Regions from separate parts of the Homo sapiens genome. Here regions 1, 2, 3 and 5 are each linked to region 4. The links are contacts of gene promoters, found by promoter capture Hi-C in blood cells and fetal thymus (Javierre and others, 2016). All regions are on one chromosome and are shown on one strand. The core of a region is centred on a gene start or on the middle of the fragment in contact, and the rest is flanking DNA. Distances in the headings are between cores, read along the strand shown.

Region 1 (2,808 bases), core at 270-2,769, 1.0 Mb before region 4:
CCCATGTCCCTTTTGTCTTCCTGAGGCTTTATTTAGAAAGAAGTGGAAATCCAAGACCACTCTTGTAAACTAATAACAATTCATTTATTTGATGGGGGATTTAAATTCCTTACCAAATTGTTAAAAGCAACTCAATAAACAGTAATATTTCTAAGCAGCCACAATTCGCAGCATGGGGCGTCCTACCTCTGATTCAGACGGCAGAACATTTATCTTTCACGACCAAAGTCTCTCCCAGCAAAGCAAGGTGGTTTTGCAAGATCCTCTACCCAGAGTAACCAGACTCAACTCGAAAAAGTTTAATTTTGCCTCATCTCTGTCCACCTCCAAATGTGTCCAGCACGTGTGGAAATCGTGACGTTAAGGAGGAAGCGTCTGCTTGGGGAAAATTAAAACTCCAGAATCCCATTTAAATCTGGTGACAGAAGTTAGAGCTGGACTCTGAGTCAGGCCAGCCTGGCCTATTCCAGCCACCACCTCCCATTTGTAAGGAACACCAAGCTAGTCACCGTCTCCCAGCTTCATTTCCTCATCCTCTCTCCGTGCCTCAGTTACTGTCTCTGGAAACAGGCTGCCTCTGTGACCCCGGAGATCTTGAAGTGAGATAATACAGGGACACCGGCTTAGTACAGACCCTCGTATTTAATTAGTGGTAAGCAAATGTTTCCTATCATCATTGTTACTAATACTATTATGATTATTGCCGTCTACAGAATGGGGACAAGCTCACTGCGGCTGCAAGGGGACCTGGGAATACAGGGAGCAACACTGGGTGGCAGCTGCCCTTTAAAAGCAGCTCTAGAAATCTGGACCGAGCTGTGAACAGGCATCCAGGGTGCCGCGGGGAGTGAATGAAACGCCGAAGAAGAGACATCTCAGAAGGGCTGTAAAAGGAAAAGAGAAGGGAGGCTGAGGAGGGCGGAGCACTTGAGGTCAGGAGTTCAAGACCATCCTGGCCAACATGGTGAAACCCCGTCTCTACTAAAAATACAAAAATTAGCCGGGTGTGGTGGCACGTGCCTGTAATCTCAGCTACTCAGGAGGCTGAGGCAGGGAGAATAGCTTGAACTCAGGAGGTGGAGGTTGCAGTGAGCCAAGATCGTGCCACTGCACTCCAGCCTGAGTGACAGAGCGAGACTGACTCAAGAAAAAAAAAAAAGAAGGAAAAGAGAATCCTTAGGAAAGAGAATGGGACTGCAAAGGCAGGAGAAAACAGGGTCTCCTTCCCCACAACACACATGGCCAAGCAGAGCCCACAGTCTATACAACTGAGGTGGGAGCTGGGTGGGGCCTTCTGCTGTCACCTGTCATGGTCATAACAGGAATCGCAGTTACCAGAGCCCCTGTGGATGTCCCAGGCACCCCTTAAGCCAAGTGGTTTATACCAATTATGTTGGATTGATTTCATCTGTAATCTTCATACCTGTCCTGGGAGGAAAATGCCATCATGATCCACCTTTTACAAATGTCAAAAGCAAGGCACAGAGAAGTTAAGAAACATATCCCAGGTCACACAGCTCAAAGATGGAGCTGGGATTTGAGCCTGGGCAGGGTGATGCCAGAGTCCACCTGCTCGACTGCCCTGGATCTGCCCCAGCCGCCTTCAGAGAACGGGTGCTGATGGCCCCCTCGGCTCTAGGTCTCAGTGGAAAACCACCCTTGGCCATTTGGTGTTTAACTCCCAGATTCCACTCTGTCCTCTGTTGCGGCTGGGATCAGGGCTGTGAGGCACTTGCTTGGGCCTTGGGTGGGAGGGGGCGTGTCTGGGGATGTGAGTGCCAGAAAGAGTGAATGGCCTTGGGAGCGGGACAGAGACAATCTAGGGAGGCAGGGACCCCCCGCGGGCCTGAAACCACAACGGCTGAAGCTGGGCGGGGGGAAGCCCGGACGGGCCCAGAGGTCTCCTCGGGATCCACGGAAGGAAGATGCTATGGACACGGCTTTCTGAAGTTTCCTTGGGACCCCAGCTCACAGCTGCCCTTCTGTGTCTGCACTGGCTACTTCAAAAAATTCAGATCTAGCAGAATTTGGAGCATAATTTCCAAATGGCAATTCTGTTCCTAAAACTGAATCCAACCTGTTGCCTAATATAATCCCAGGAGCTCTTTACTGAGCCTCCAAAGAGGTCATTCCTCCAGCCCTGGGACCTGAATTCTGCCAGCGCCCAAGTGGGTAGGAAACAGAGGAACACAGCCCGGCAGACACCTTGCCCTCAGCCCTGTGAGTCTATTTCATGCTTCTGGCCTCCAGAACTGGAGGGGAATAAATGTGTGGTGTTTGAGTCACTACCTTTGTGGGCATTTGTTACAGCAGCAATAGGAAACAGGTGCATTTCCTCTGTCGTTTTTATTAATAGAATGTTAGTAATTTGCTGGTGTTGCTAGAGTTGCTGAGTGGCAAGCTGGGAACTTTACAGTCACTTCATCCGAGTCTGGCCAGCAGGAGGGACCCGGCTCAGAGGAGGAAGGACGTTTCCCAGGCCCCACAGGACCTGAAGCCTGGTCAGTCTGACACAGAAGATACCACACTCAGGCAGTACCCACCAGTGTCTCTACATCTTGATATGGTCTATGGCTAAAAATGAGACAATTCTTAGACCCATAGAAGGATTCTACTGAAGGAGACTCTAAAAACCTTTTAATCTGATTTTAGTTAGTCAGATGAGCAAAAAGAGGCCCAGAAGGATCAGGTGACTTGTCCAAGAACGCATAGCCAATTGCCTTAAATGGAATGATGCTGTTCCATTCAGCTCCTCCCCGTGGCCGGAACAGATCTGATTGAGTAGACTACAGCAGTATCCACTCTTGC
Region 2 (2,955 bases), core at 433-2,932, 1.8 Mb before region 4:
TTTATAGACCGAAGCTTCTGTGTCTGTTCTAATAATTAGTAGAACTCCAATTCATATTTGCATTTTGAAGTTCTCACCCCCAACAAGTCCGAAGATAATTTTCCTAAAATACACAGATCCTCACTGGACTCTTTCAAGTCCTTCCAGAGATGATGCGAACCAGCGACTCAGAATTCAATGACTACAAAGCGCAGGGCCTACACCTGTAACACACTATGTATTTGGAAGGATTTTCAATGCACCTTTAGATGTGTATCAAATAAAAGTCTCTTACCCTATTGTTGGGTTGATGTTTGGATCAAAACTGTCTTCCACAAACCGCCACACAATACTCGATTTACCTACACCTGTATCCTGAAAGAGAACGAGATGAGGGACTGAGAAAAAGTTTACCTTTTGGCAGACACCAAAAACTACTTTGTGGCATAAGTTCAGGATTTTAGAAAAATCACCCTAGACGTGTAAATTTTATAAACGGAGGAACACAAAAGCGGTTGTCATAAAAATTCAGTAGAGTAATTAGGAAATTCCAACTGTACTAAAAGGGAGAGGTTTTTGCCGTTAAGACAGATTAGGACCTTTTGAGAGACCCAAAGTTTCTGCTTCGTGTAAAAAGTAACAAGTCCACTTGCTTTTTAACATATGTTAGTAAACTTTGAACTCCTGAGTTACCTCTGAGTAATCCCTGATGAATCCTAGCCCCACCCTATTTGGGGGAATAAAGATTAGTTATTGGAGTTCCTGCCGATCTTTAAGGCAGAAACTCTGGAATGACAGCATCAATTTCAGAAAGAAGGCTTTGAAATGGCCAACACCTTGTCTTTCCTGACAAGACAGGAAGCTGAAGCTTCAAACTAGTCTTTGGGGCTTCCTGATTTGAACACCCCTTTTCTCCACAGGAAGAGTTACTTGGCAAAGTAACTCTTTGGACAAGTGGCAGGGGTATCCCACAAGTTCAAAAACACCCAAGAGACAAAGTAGGCTAATGCTGCTTGTAAAACCTAAAGACCTGTTATTGGTTTTACTTTGGAAGACTTGGCCAACTCCCAACTAATACCTTGGTAAGTTGGGAGAAAACTATTTAAGAACCTCTCTTAACCCAGATGCAATAGAGAGGCAAGGGGGGGCTGTTTGCTCTTTGTGGGGCGGGAAGAGTCCACGGGCTCCAGGGAGGGGAAGGGGAAGGGTCCCTTCGGCCTCCAGGACCTTTTCGAGAGTGCAAGAGGTGGGCGGGACGGCTCCCGAGCTGGAGGGAGGGTCCACGGGGCTGGCAGACAGCGTCTTGGACGTGGGAGGGGGGAAGGGATGAGGGGACAGGGGGGATCCGGGGTCCCCGCCAGCCCAGCCTCCCGTGGCCCTCCCGGCCGGACCCGCCGCCACTCACCCCGAGCAGACACACTTTGAGCTCCCTCAGCGCCATGGCCCGGGAGCCAGGGGCGCGGGCCCGCCGCCGCCCTAAGTTGAGAAGGGAGAGGCCAGGCCCAGCAAGAGCATCCCCTGGCGCCGCTGCCGCCGCACGGCCCAGCCCCGGTCCGCGCAGAGGCGGCTGCCGCCCGTCCTCCGGCCGTAGGTCCGGCCTGTCCGCTGCCAGCCGCGTGGGGCCCGCCTTAGCAGCCGGGACGCCGCCGCGGCCTTCCGGGAGCCGCCGCCGCCGCCATCTTGGGACGCCGGCCGCGTCACCTGACCTCCCCGCCCACCTCGGCAGCCACCTTCGCTGAGAGGGCGGGGCCGGCCGGCCGGCGCGGATCGGGGGCGGGGCCCGAAGCCGACGGCCCCGCCCCTGTCTGCAGGGCCCCGCCCCTGTCTGCAGGGCCCCGCCCCTGTCTGCAGGGCCCCGCCCCTGTCTGCAGGGCCCCGCCCCTGTCTGCAGGGCCCCGCCCCTGTCTGCAGGGCCCCGCCCCTGTCTGCAGGGCCCCGCCCCTGTCTGCAGGGCCCCGCCCCTGCCGGTCCCGCCTCCATGCCCATCCCAAGATGGCGGGTGAGTGGGGCTGGGCTCGGGGGATGCCAGGGGTGCCCCTCTCTCTCTCGCCCCGTGACCACCCCGCGAGGCCGAGGGGCCCCTGCCCGACCCCGTCCCCTCTCGCCGCAGCCCCCTGGTAACTTCTTGTGTGTTTCTTGGTTTTCAGAGATCCCCCTGTACTTTGTGGACTTGCAGGATGACTTAGACGACTGTAAGTAAGAGTTGGGGCACCCCTGTCCCTCCCTGGGACCCTCTCAAAGAATTCAGAGTGCACGAAGCGCGGGGCGGGGGAACCTCAAGCCAGGCACTCCTTGTCGGGACCAGAACAGCGGGACCCCCAACTGCCTAGATCCACTGGTGGCGGTCCCTCCTCCCTGGGCGGGGCGGGCTGAGGGTGGGAGCCCTTCCCTTCCCTCGGGGGAAGGATTTTTGTTGTTGGGGAAACTTTGGACTCCCTGTCACTTCTTTTCTTCCTGCGCCTGCAGCTGCCGTGGGATGGGCGGAGGGGGTAGTCCCAAGTCCTAGTCGACCCTGGGCGGGCGGGGGGTCCGCCACCTGGGAGGTGGGTGACTTCCCTCTCAGGGCCTTGCCCTTTTCCTAGGGACTTTTTAGGACTGCTGGGGGGTTTGGGAGGTCCCCCTCTCGGTGTGGCCGGTCACGGAGTTGCACGGACTTCTCAAGTGTCCTGGCCACAAGCCCGGCTCCATCTCTTATCCCATGGAGCCCATTGGCCCCCGCATTTCTTGGGTGGGACCCTTGTCCCTTCTTGCCCTCTTTTTTGGAATCATGTTAAGGGCTGGTAGCTGGGGGAGGTGTCATCTTAGAAATCCAAGTTCGCATTTCTGGTGAAGGAAGGAAGCGTTTTCTCTCCTGTCAAGAAACTTACTGAGCAGCTATTTGCTCTGGGGGCCACGTGTTGGGCTCCGAACCTGCAAGGATGTGTTGAAAACAGCTCTACACGCAGGGAGCTCACAGGGTGTGGGGAGAGCCTACTT
Region 3 (3,124 bases), core at 236-2,735, 1.2 Mb before region 4:
AATGGAAAATAAAATGATAGTGGTTCCTCCCTCCCGGGGTTGCCAAGATGATTAAATAACATAACAACTAAGATGTATCCGGCCCCTTCTCCTCTACTTGCAAGGCATCGATCCCTTCATTCCTCGCAATCACACCACGTGAAGGTGCCATGAAGCCACCCCATTTTGCAGAAGAGGAAACTGAGGTTGGAGAGGTGAAAGCACTCAGCCGAGGTCACACAGCTATGTCCCACTCATCTTTGGGTGACCCTCAGGTTCGGACCCTGAGGTCTGAACACTGCATTAAGCTCTCCAGACAGAATCAACTTCGGAACTAGCGCCAGAGACCACTAAGTCAATCCCAGGTGACACCATCAGCACTCAATAAATGGTAGCCACTGCCGGTGTCGCAGATGGATCAATGGGAGGTCAAGCGTTGTGGGTAGGTTTGGTTTCTTTAAGCCACTGAATTAACTGGTTATTTTTGCCTGCTGGCAGTGCAGCCTCCATTGTGTAAATGCCATCTCACTTCCAAGACAATCAACGTGTGACTTCTCCCAGCCAGACTAGCCAGGTCTCCCGAGACTTCCCGGAGGGCAGGGGCTGTGTCTGGAGTGGCTGAATTCCCCGGCTCAGGGTTGCAGCTCAGCCAGTTTGTTGATTGAATGAATGAAGAAATGGCTGAAAGCAGGGGTGGTAATGATGACCTCCTTCACCCTAGGAAGTGAATGGGACCCAGGTCATCTCCAGGCCCAGCCAGTATTTGCAGTGGCACCCCAAGGGATGCTGGGGGACCCCTTAGCTTTTCTCTTAAGTTGCAGCGGCCAAACTGCAGCAATATCTTCCCTGATAAAAGACACGCTGGTGGTATTGCCCCTTCCTCAAGGCAGGGGCTGAGGGCGCCCAGTTCACAGCAGGGTGCCATCTGGGGTAGACGCTGGGTATTGCCCCACTCCTGGGCCGGGGCCTGGGTCCTGACCTAGTGCTGGCTGTGGCTCCAAGAGTGAGCTTCTCCTCCCAAACAGAAGACGGTCAGTGCCTCTGAACCTCCCTCTGGGCTGGGCACGCTTGGACTCCTCCAAAGAGCTTGGACCAGCCTGAGCCACATCCCTGGGCTTGACTTCTCCAGAACAAGCCTCCTGGTCTTTCTGGGAGAGCTCTGGCAGCATCACTGTGCCTGTGCAGGGAGAGCGGGAACCCACTTCCTGCACCGGCTTTCTCTGAGTTCTTCAGGATGAATTCGCTCTGGTCTAGGTAAGTTCTACCCCGAGGCCACCTTCACTTCCCAAATTCCAGCTTTTCCTTCTCTATCCAAACTGTTACAAACACAGTAACAATAATTTTTAAAAGCTTTTTTTTTCTCTGAACACACTAAGTCCCTGCTAATTACTGAAACTCCAGGCATTACAGGAATATGTGGACACTTAAAGAATCAGGACTACGTGGGAGAGGGGGAGGCAGCTCCCCAGGGTCCTGGGTTGGCACACAGGCTCCACCACTGTGTGACTTTCAACAAGCGACTTCCTTGACCAGCTGCCCGCTCTGTAAAATGGGGAGAGTAATATTCGGCCACACTGAGTCGGTGTCAGGTTGAGTTAATATTTGGAGAGTTTCTGGCACAGGTAGGTGCTCCTTAAGTGCCTGTTAAATAAGTGAAGCTTTGAGAAAGTGTCTAAAAGGCGACACACTAAATTTTTAAGAGGCTGGAGGTGGGCCAGGGAGGGGAGGTCTCTTATGTAATATTTTAATATCTTTTTAAACCTGAAGAATGTGTTCTTGTAGCACTCCTGTAATTAAAACTTAATGAACTAAAAGTACACCCCTCCTGCTCATACCCCTTTTGAACTCCGCAGCCGCGCCCCCCAGCCGGAGGCCCCTTGGGCAGCAGACAATGGGTGTGGATTCGCCCCAGGTCCCGCCGGCTGGGGCGGCGACAATACACCAGTCCCCGACAGCTATTTACATGACAAGGGCTTCCGGGCGTGTCTACGCGAGTTCCCGTCTTTCCTGGTCGTCCTCCTTGGGTTCGGGTGAAAGCGCTTGGGGGTTCAGTGGGCCATGATCCCCGAGCTGCTGGAGAACTGAAGGCGGACAGTCTCCTGCGAAACCAGGCAATGGGTGATCCATCTTGGGGGCTTCCTCCCCCTTTCTCCAATTTCTCTTCCCTGAGCCCCCAGGGACCTTGTGCTCCTCAGAAGATAGGCTAGCCCCAAGAGCCTGGGTCAAGGACCCCAGGGACGGGGGCGAGGGGAGGGCGCACCAGCAACCCGCCCGGGTGCGGCTGGCACCGAGTTCGGCTCCCCGGCCCCGGGCGTGCGCCGGGCAGGCGTTCCAAGCTGACCGCCGTTGGGGAGAGGGCACAGCGCCCCTCCTCCGTTGCGCGGGTGCCGGGTCTACGTGGGCCGCCTAGCTCTGGCCCTTTAAGAGCCCGCCCCGTTTCCCGTCACCCCGCCCCCCGGCTCGGGGAGGGGGTGCGGGGGAACCTCGGCGGGGATTGGCGCAGCGCGCGCCCCCTCCCCGGCCCCCGCGCGGTGGGAACCGGCAGCCCCGTCTAGCGCTGACGTCAGACCGTCTGCCTGCCTCCGACCGCGGTCTCGGAGCGAAACCCGATCTCCTTGGACTTGAATGAGGAGGAGGAGGCGGCGGCGGCGGCGGCGGCGGAGGCGCTCGGCTGGGGAAAGCTAGCGGCAGAGGCTCAGCCCCGGCGGCAGCGCGCGCCCCGCTGCCAGCCCATTTTCCGGACGCCACCCGCGGGCACTGCCGACGCCCCCGGGGCTGCCGAGGGGAGGCCGGGGGGGCGCAGCGGAGCGCGGTCCCGCGCACTGAGCCCCGCGGCGCCCCGGGAACTTGGCGGCGACCCGAGCCCGGCGAGCCGGGGCGCGCCTCCCCCGCCGCGCGCCTCCTGCATGCGGGGCCCCAGCTCCGGGCGCCGGCCGGAGCCCCCCCCGGCCGCCCCCGAGCCCCCCGCGCCCCGCGCCGCGCCGCCGCGCCGTCCATGCACCGCTTGATGGGGGTCAACAGCACCGCCGCCGCCGCCGCCGGGCAGCCCAATGTCTCCTGCACGTGCAACTGCAAACGCTCTTTGTTCCAGAGCATGGAGATCAGTGAGTGACCCCACGCCCCCCTCCCCGGAGACTCCATCGGG
Region 4 (2,712 bases), core at 86-2,585:
ACATTTCAGTTACAGTGGACAGATGACATTTGAGTAAAAAACTGAATGAAGTAAAGAAACTCATCATGTGACAATCTCAGTGAAGAGTATTTCAGATTGATGAACTCACACTCCAGGTTGAAGAACAAGAGGCCTGTTTAGCTAGAACAGTATGAAAGAGGTGGAGAGGGGCAGAAGATGAGGTCAGAAACATAGGCAAGGTCTGCTCAAGGGTCTGACGAGATTTTATTCTTAATGTGATGGGAAGCCACTGGAATGCTTCAAATACAATAGTGACTTAAGGGGTTTACCTTTTAAACAAGCTCTCCAGCTCCTGAATCAGAATACATGAAGTCTCCACGTGTGCTTTACAAATATTTTTGTAAAGAAGTCTCTACTAGGTGCTTTACAAATATTTTATCATTAAAAAGTAATTACTTGTGCTAACTTTGAAATCCCAAATAAGTGGATGGGAATCCTGGCTTCACTACCTACCAGCTGTGTGATCTTAGTCACCTTAATATCCCTGGACTCAATGTCCCCGTCAGTAGCAAAGAAATTATTATAATTTCCTCGATTACTTGTGAGATCAGGGATTATTCACTCATTTGTTTATTCGAAATATTTAGTGTGCCAGGAACCATGCTAGTTGCAGAGAAAAAAAGGGTACAGCCTCTGCTATCAGGAACTTACCGTCTAGCGGGGAAGACTTGATACAAATCAACCACGTACAGCCGTGTGCAGGCTAAGACAGTTTATAAAAGGATGTGGTAAGGGAACAGTTTGGGAAGGCTTCTCTGAGCAAATGAAGTTAGTGTATACAAAACTCAGTATACACTAGGTATTTGTATTATTGCTACTAGTCGCAGGTAGGGTTCAAATCCTGGCTCTGCCATTTACTAGCTTTGCAAATTTCTCCTTTTGAGCCTCAACTTCCATGTCTGAAAATGAGGACAACAGTATGTAGCTATAGGGCTATTGTGATAATTACATGAGATACCCCCTGTTAAGATTACTGTCCAGTGAATGGCAATAGTCAGCACCCATTGAATGTCCACTCTTAATACTGTTGTTAATTTTGAGTCCTCTGAATGGAATAAAAGACCGCAGCCAGGTCTGGAACTCCGCTGGCTCCCCCTTCTTACTTCCTCTCGTTTTCTGGGGTCGTCAAATTCCCACCACCCCCGGTCGCCAAGAGCCGGCCCACATCACTGACCTTCTCAACCTTCTTCGGCCCCTTCACCAGTTCATGCCTCTTGGGGATTGTTCCCCCGTCGCAACCCATCGCAGGACGGGAGTCAGAGCCAGCAGCAAACCCCCAAAGCTGTCACTTCCGGGATTTCCGGCGAAATCCGCAGCCACTTCCGGCGCACCGCCGTGACGCAGCACGCTGGTCGTGGCGTAGCGGGGCGGGGCGGGGCGGCACGCTAGGCGCGGCGTAGCGGGGCAGGGCGAGGCCGTTACCAAGTGCCGGTTGTCATGGAGAGCGTCGCTTGGAGGCTGGGCGTGGGCGGGTTTCCTCGTTCCCGTGAGACCCTGGGTTTCTGCTGCACAATCGGAATCACTCGCCCACGCTCCGGGAGGGCAGCGAGGGCGTGGGCGGCCCGTGCGCATCCACCGCTCTTTGACCCTATCCCACGCCAGCTTGTGTGGCTGCGGAGCGGGCACATCCCTGGACTGAGAGCGCCTTGAGGAAAAGGGCCGCCCTCCTGTTTCTGCGATTAAGGATGCCTATGAACGGAATCTGCTGTATCAATGGACATTTTTGTGTTTAAAAGGAGAACGCATCTTTCTTGAGCGCCAACTGTGACTCAAGCACTCACAACAAATCTTGTGAAGTGATGTTACAACAGATTCTAGGAAGTAAGACCCTCCCTTAAGGCCTGGAACTTTCTGGTGTTGCCATGCATATTGTAGATGGCATGTGTGTGAAATTTTGCATACAGTTTGTGCGTGTGTGTATTTCATTCACAGTTTCCTGAAGCCCAGGCTAAAAAAATTTTATTAACAATCAAGTATCATTAATAGACGATATAATAGTTCTTATAAAATATACACTGATGTTGCCATGCCCGTTCCAAGAGTCAGGCTGTATTTTATCTATAAGAACACAAATCCCTTGCTAAAAATTCATGATTGTCTGTCTGCTCTTAGGCGATTGTCTATCTCTCTGTTTGTTCCTTTAATTATTATAAATATTATGGGAAAGTGCCTATAATCCCAGCACTTTGGGAGGCCGAGACGGGAGGAGCACCTGAGCCCAGGAGTTCCAGGTCAGCCTGGACAACATGGTGAGACACCATCTTGAAAGAAAAAGAAAAATTAGCCAGGCGTTGTGGTAAGCTTTTGTAGTCCTAGCGGCTCCGGAGGCTGAGGGGGTAGGAAGGATTGCCTGAGCCCAGGAATTCAAGGTTGCAGTGAGCTTATGATTATGCCACTGCACTCCAGCCTAGGCAACAGAGCAAGACTCTGTCATTAATATGTATGTATGTATGTATGTATGTATTTGTACATATATATGATGGGAAAATTTCTCCATTGCCAAGAAGGCAGATCTTTATGATTGGATATTACCCTATTGACCTACGTGAAACATAAAAACGCTGAAAATATTTTTTACTTGGGAAGAGTTGCCCAGAAAATACGTGGATGTGGAAACTTCAAGGGCTATATGTAAGCTTGGGGTACTTGTTACTGTGATTAATGAGAATTTTAAAAAATAATCCCTTTAAT
Region 5 (2,897 bases), core at 328-2,827, 1.9 Mb before region 4:
TGTACCATTTGCCAACTGGGTAACTTTGGGTAAGTTACCCTACACTACTTCCCAATAGGACATATAAACTGGAGAGCCTCTGGCCATTCATTCATTCATAAATACCAACTGAGCATCTACTGTGAGTCCGGTGCTAGCGATATAGTGGAGACCCGGCCTTCCAATCTAAAGTACGCTTCCATGGAGTCAGACTGTTCCATTTCCTACACAGCACTTAGCACTATCTGCAATGATCTTGTGTGTTGGTTTGTCTGTCCTCGTCGGAAGGTAAGCTCTGTGAGAGCAGAGGCCTTATCTGTCTTGTGCATCCATCACCTCCCCAGAGCCTCCCACATCACTGGATACACGCAAAAAGAAAGAATGAGCATGTCAGACAAGAACTTTTACCTCGTGGCCCTGGTGAAGGTAGGAAAAAAAAAAAAAAAACAAAAGTAACAACATAGAAAACATAAAGGCACAAATTACAGAGGTAATAGTATCTGGGAGAAACCAGGGTCATGGCTTCCCATCGCCGCAGGTGTTGCTCCAGACAGCTCTGCGGAGAAAAAGGATCCCAGCACCGTGGCAGCCTCCTTGCACCGCAACCAGGAGACAGCATGAGGGACGCAGTGAAAGGAAAATGGGCCCAATCCCATCAGAAGTCCTGAGGAGGTTCATTTGTTGGTTCAACATGTTCATCTGTTGGTTCAACAGGTATTTATTTACTAGGCGTATAATGTGTGCTGGGTACACAGCAGCGAACTGACAAGAGCCTGTCCTCATGCAGTTTCCCTTCTAGTATTGAAACAGTGATTTTGGGTATGAAAAGTGCCGTGCTGACCACGAAACAGTGACGGAATAGGGAATGACAGCAGGTGTGCACGGTGGCTGGGTGGTCACAGCAGGCCTCTCTGAGCAGCTGACACCTCAACTAAGCCCTGAGGTCAACACTGTCACGGAGCAGGGGAAGAAACTTCTAGGCAAAGGCAGCGGCGGAGGCTCACACTAGAGAGGATCACAAACTGGTAAGTTACAAAGTGACAAGTGCCTCGAAGGCAAGTCCCAGGAGGCTGGGGGTCGGGGAGGAGGCGCAGGCCCCGGCTCCCGCACCAGCCCTCTCGGGTCCCGGCCACTCCGGGCAGTTCTGGGGAGCGCGGCGAGCGCCAAGGCCCGGCCCGGCCTCGCCGCCCCCCGCGACAGCGCCGTCGGGGTGGGGACGAGGGCCGACGTCACCCGCCGCGCCGGGCTCCGTCCTTCCAGCACTGGGGCGGAGGCCGCGGGCAGGAAGGTGGCGGCCTCTGGGGCTTACCTCGGAATTTGAGCTCGTGCTGCGGCTCGAGGCTCAGGACCTGCTCCACCTTCGCCATGTTCCTTAGCGGCGGAGCACCTTTGGCGGGGAGACCCCTGAGAGGTCACCGGGGCGGGAAGCGTTAATGCTGCGCCCGCTTTAAGTTTTACAAAAAGGCGGGGACCGGTCGGGGCACGGGCGGGGGTCCTCTACCGGGTGGGCGCGCTGGGGGGGGGTCGGTCTACGCGGTGCAGGCGCAGGGGCGGAGGGCGAGGGCGAGGCCGCGGTGCCCGGCGAGCTGACGGCACGCACGCACGCACGCACGCACGCAGAGTCGTACACACGCACGCACGCAGCAGGCTGGCCCGCTCTGGCGGCGGGAAGCTGCGCCCTGCGCCGCCGGCTCCAGGGGCGGGGACTAAAGCTGCGCGCGTAGAGCCCCTTCCGGGACAGTGCGCAGGCGCGGCACAAGCCACGGGGGCGGGACTGCGGGGCAGTAAGGGGCGGGGCTTCGGGCCGCTCAGGAGGCGGGGTCTGTAGTCCAGCTACGACAGCCACCGCGGAAACTATTAAGGGCCCGCTGGGGGCCAGCTTCGTGTTAAGTGCTTTATTCAATAATAACAATTAGAATAAACTTCCACTTTTCTCTTGCTTATGTAGTGCCAGGCACTGTTAGAGACTTTGAATAATAGTGAAAGTACTTAGTATAAGTATAATGTTTATGGGTGAGTGATATGGGCTAGGCACTGTGACGTCTTGTAAATAATAATTATAAATATAATAAACTACCAATTATTGCTTATTTATTTTGTATCACTCTACTGAATGCTTCCAATAACAACAGCAACTACAATAAATACAAGCTACTCTACGTTAAATGTTTACTATGCAACTGGCACTGTGCTGAATTCTTTACTAGTAAATTCTATTTGTTTATGCAACAAATATTTAGAAATACAATGATCAGAAAAGCGAACCTGATTCCAATCCTTTTACTATAGCCTAGTGAAGAGACATCTTTTGAATAAATAACCACACACGTAAGTTAAATAATTAAAAATTGCTGGAGAATCCAGATCTGCTTGACCTCAAAAGTGGATACTCTACATCATGATTACCGTTTAAATTGTATTTCATTATATTATGTTTACTATGGAAGTTAAATAGGTGTTCTTAATAGTCTCCTATACATACCCATATAGGTGAGACAAATGTGGCAAATTGCTAGCAATGGCTGACTCTACATCGCAGGTATATGGTTTTCTTGTACTGTTTCTCCCACTTTGCTGTATACTTGAAATTTTTCATGATAAAAAGGTTTTTTAAAAGAATAGTCTTTGTATTTTAACTGGAGCATTTAGTCCATTTACATTTATTATATTTACTGATATATCTGGAATTATTTCTACCATTGTATTTTGTTATTTCTATTTGTCCTGCCTGGTTTTTTTCCCCTTTCCTTTCTTCTTTAGGGTTTATTTTTATTCTCATTCTGATTTTCTTCACCTGTATACTCTATTTCTAAGTTTTAGTGGTTACTTCAAACTTTTGGGCATGCATACTTACCTTGTGAAAGTCCAATATCTTTAAATATTTGTAAAAATGTCTTTACCCTGTTTCCTTAAAATAT

What was found. The method cuts DNA at HindIII sites, captures the fragments that hold promoters and counts their contacts. A CHiCAGO score of 5 or more calls a contact.
Region 1: a fragment that was not itself captured here is called in contact with the fragment with the promoter of RTF2 in region 4 in 1 of 17 cell types (M0 macrophages); the score reaches 5.1 in M0 macrophages.
Region 2: a contact is called between the fragment with the promoter of RAB22A here and the fragment with the promoter of RTF2 in region 4, in 1 of 17 cell types (total B cells). The highest score is 5.5, in total B cells.
Region 3: a contact is called between a fragment that was not itself captured here and the fragment with the promoter of RTF2 in region 4, in 1 of 17 cell types (monocytes). The highest score is 8.2, in monocytes.
Region 5: the fragment with the promoter of VAPB here is called in contact with the fragment with the promoter of RTF2 in region 4 in 1 of 17 cell types (neutrophils); the score reaches 6.1 in neutrophils.

Annotation. Positions count from the first base shown.
Region 1 is chr20:57,475,797-57,478,604 of GRCh38, reverse strand. No RefSeq gene overlaps it. Among named protein-coding and RNA genes, the nearest start is that of CTCFL, 48 kb to the left of the region's middle. RefSeq lists an enhancer at 1,803-2,303. The HindIII fragment of the contact is 7,583 bases long and covers 1-2,808 here.
Region 2 is chr20:58,308,442-58,311,396 of GRCh38, reverse strand. RAB22A (RAB22A, member RAS oncogene family) reads right to left here and starts at 1,682. Exons shown (of 7, transcript NM_020673.3): 1 at 1,385-1,682; 2 at 275-354. The coding sequence starts at 1,420. It also overlaps the pseudogene PPP4R1L. RefSeq lists silencers at 1,284-1,613, 1,654-2,213. The HindIII fragment of the contact is 7,008 bases long and covers 850-2,955 here.
Region 3 is chr20:57,709,433-57,712,556 of GRCh38, reverse strand. PMEPA1 (prostate transmembrane protein, androgen induced 1) reads left to right here and starts at 2,542. Exons shown (of 4, transcript NM_020182.5): 1 at 2,542-3,083. The coding sequence starts at 2,975. It overlaps NKILA (NF-kappaB interacting lncRNA), which reads right to left and starts at 2,374. Exons shown (of 1, transcript NR_131157.1): 1 at 1-2,374. RefSeq lists an enhancer at 1-488 and silencers at 2,141-2,260, 2,281-2,710. The HindIII fragment of the contact is 308 bases long and covers 1,332-1,639 here.
Region 4 is chr20:56,467,250-56,469,961 of GRCh38, reverse strand. It overlaps RTF2 (replication termination factor 2), which reads right to left and starts at 1,335. Exons shown (of 9, transcript NM_016407.5): 1 at 1,196-1,335. The coding sequence starts at 1,264. The HindIII fragment of the contact is 9,363 bases long and covers 1-2,324 here.
Region 5 is chr20:58,387,909-58,390,805 of GRCh38, reverse strand. VAPB (VAMP associated protein B and C) reads right to left here and starts at 1,577. Exons shown (of 6, transcript NM_004738.5): 1 at 1,289-1,577. The coding sequence starts at 1,346. RefSeq lists silencers at 1,049-1,168, 1,429-1,868. The HindIII fragment of the contact is 12,509 bases long and covers 1-2,897 here.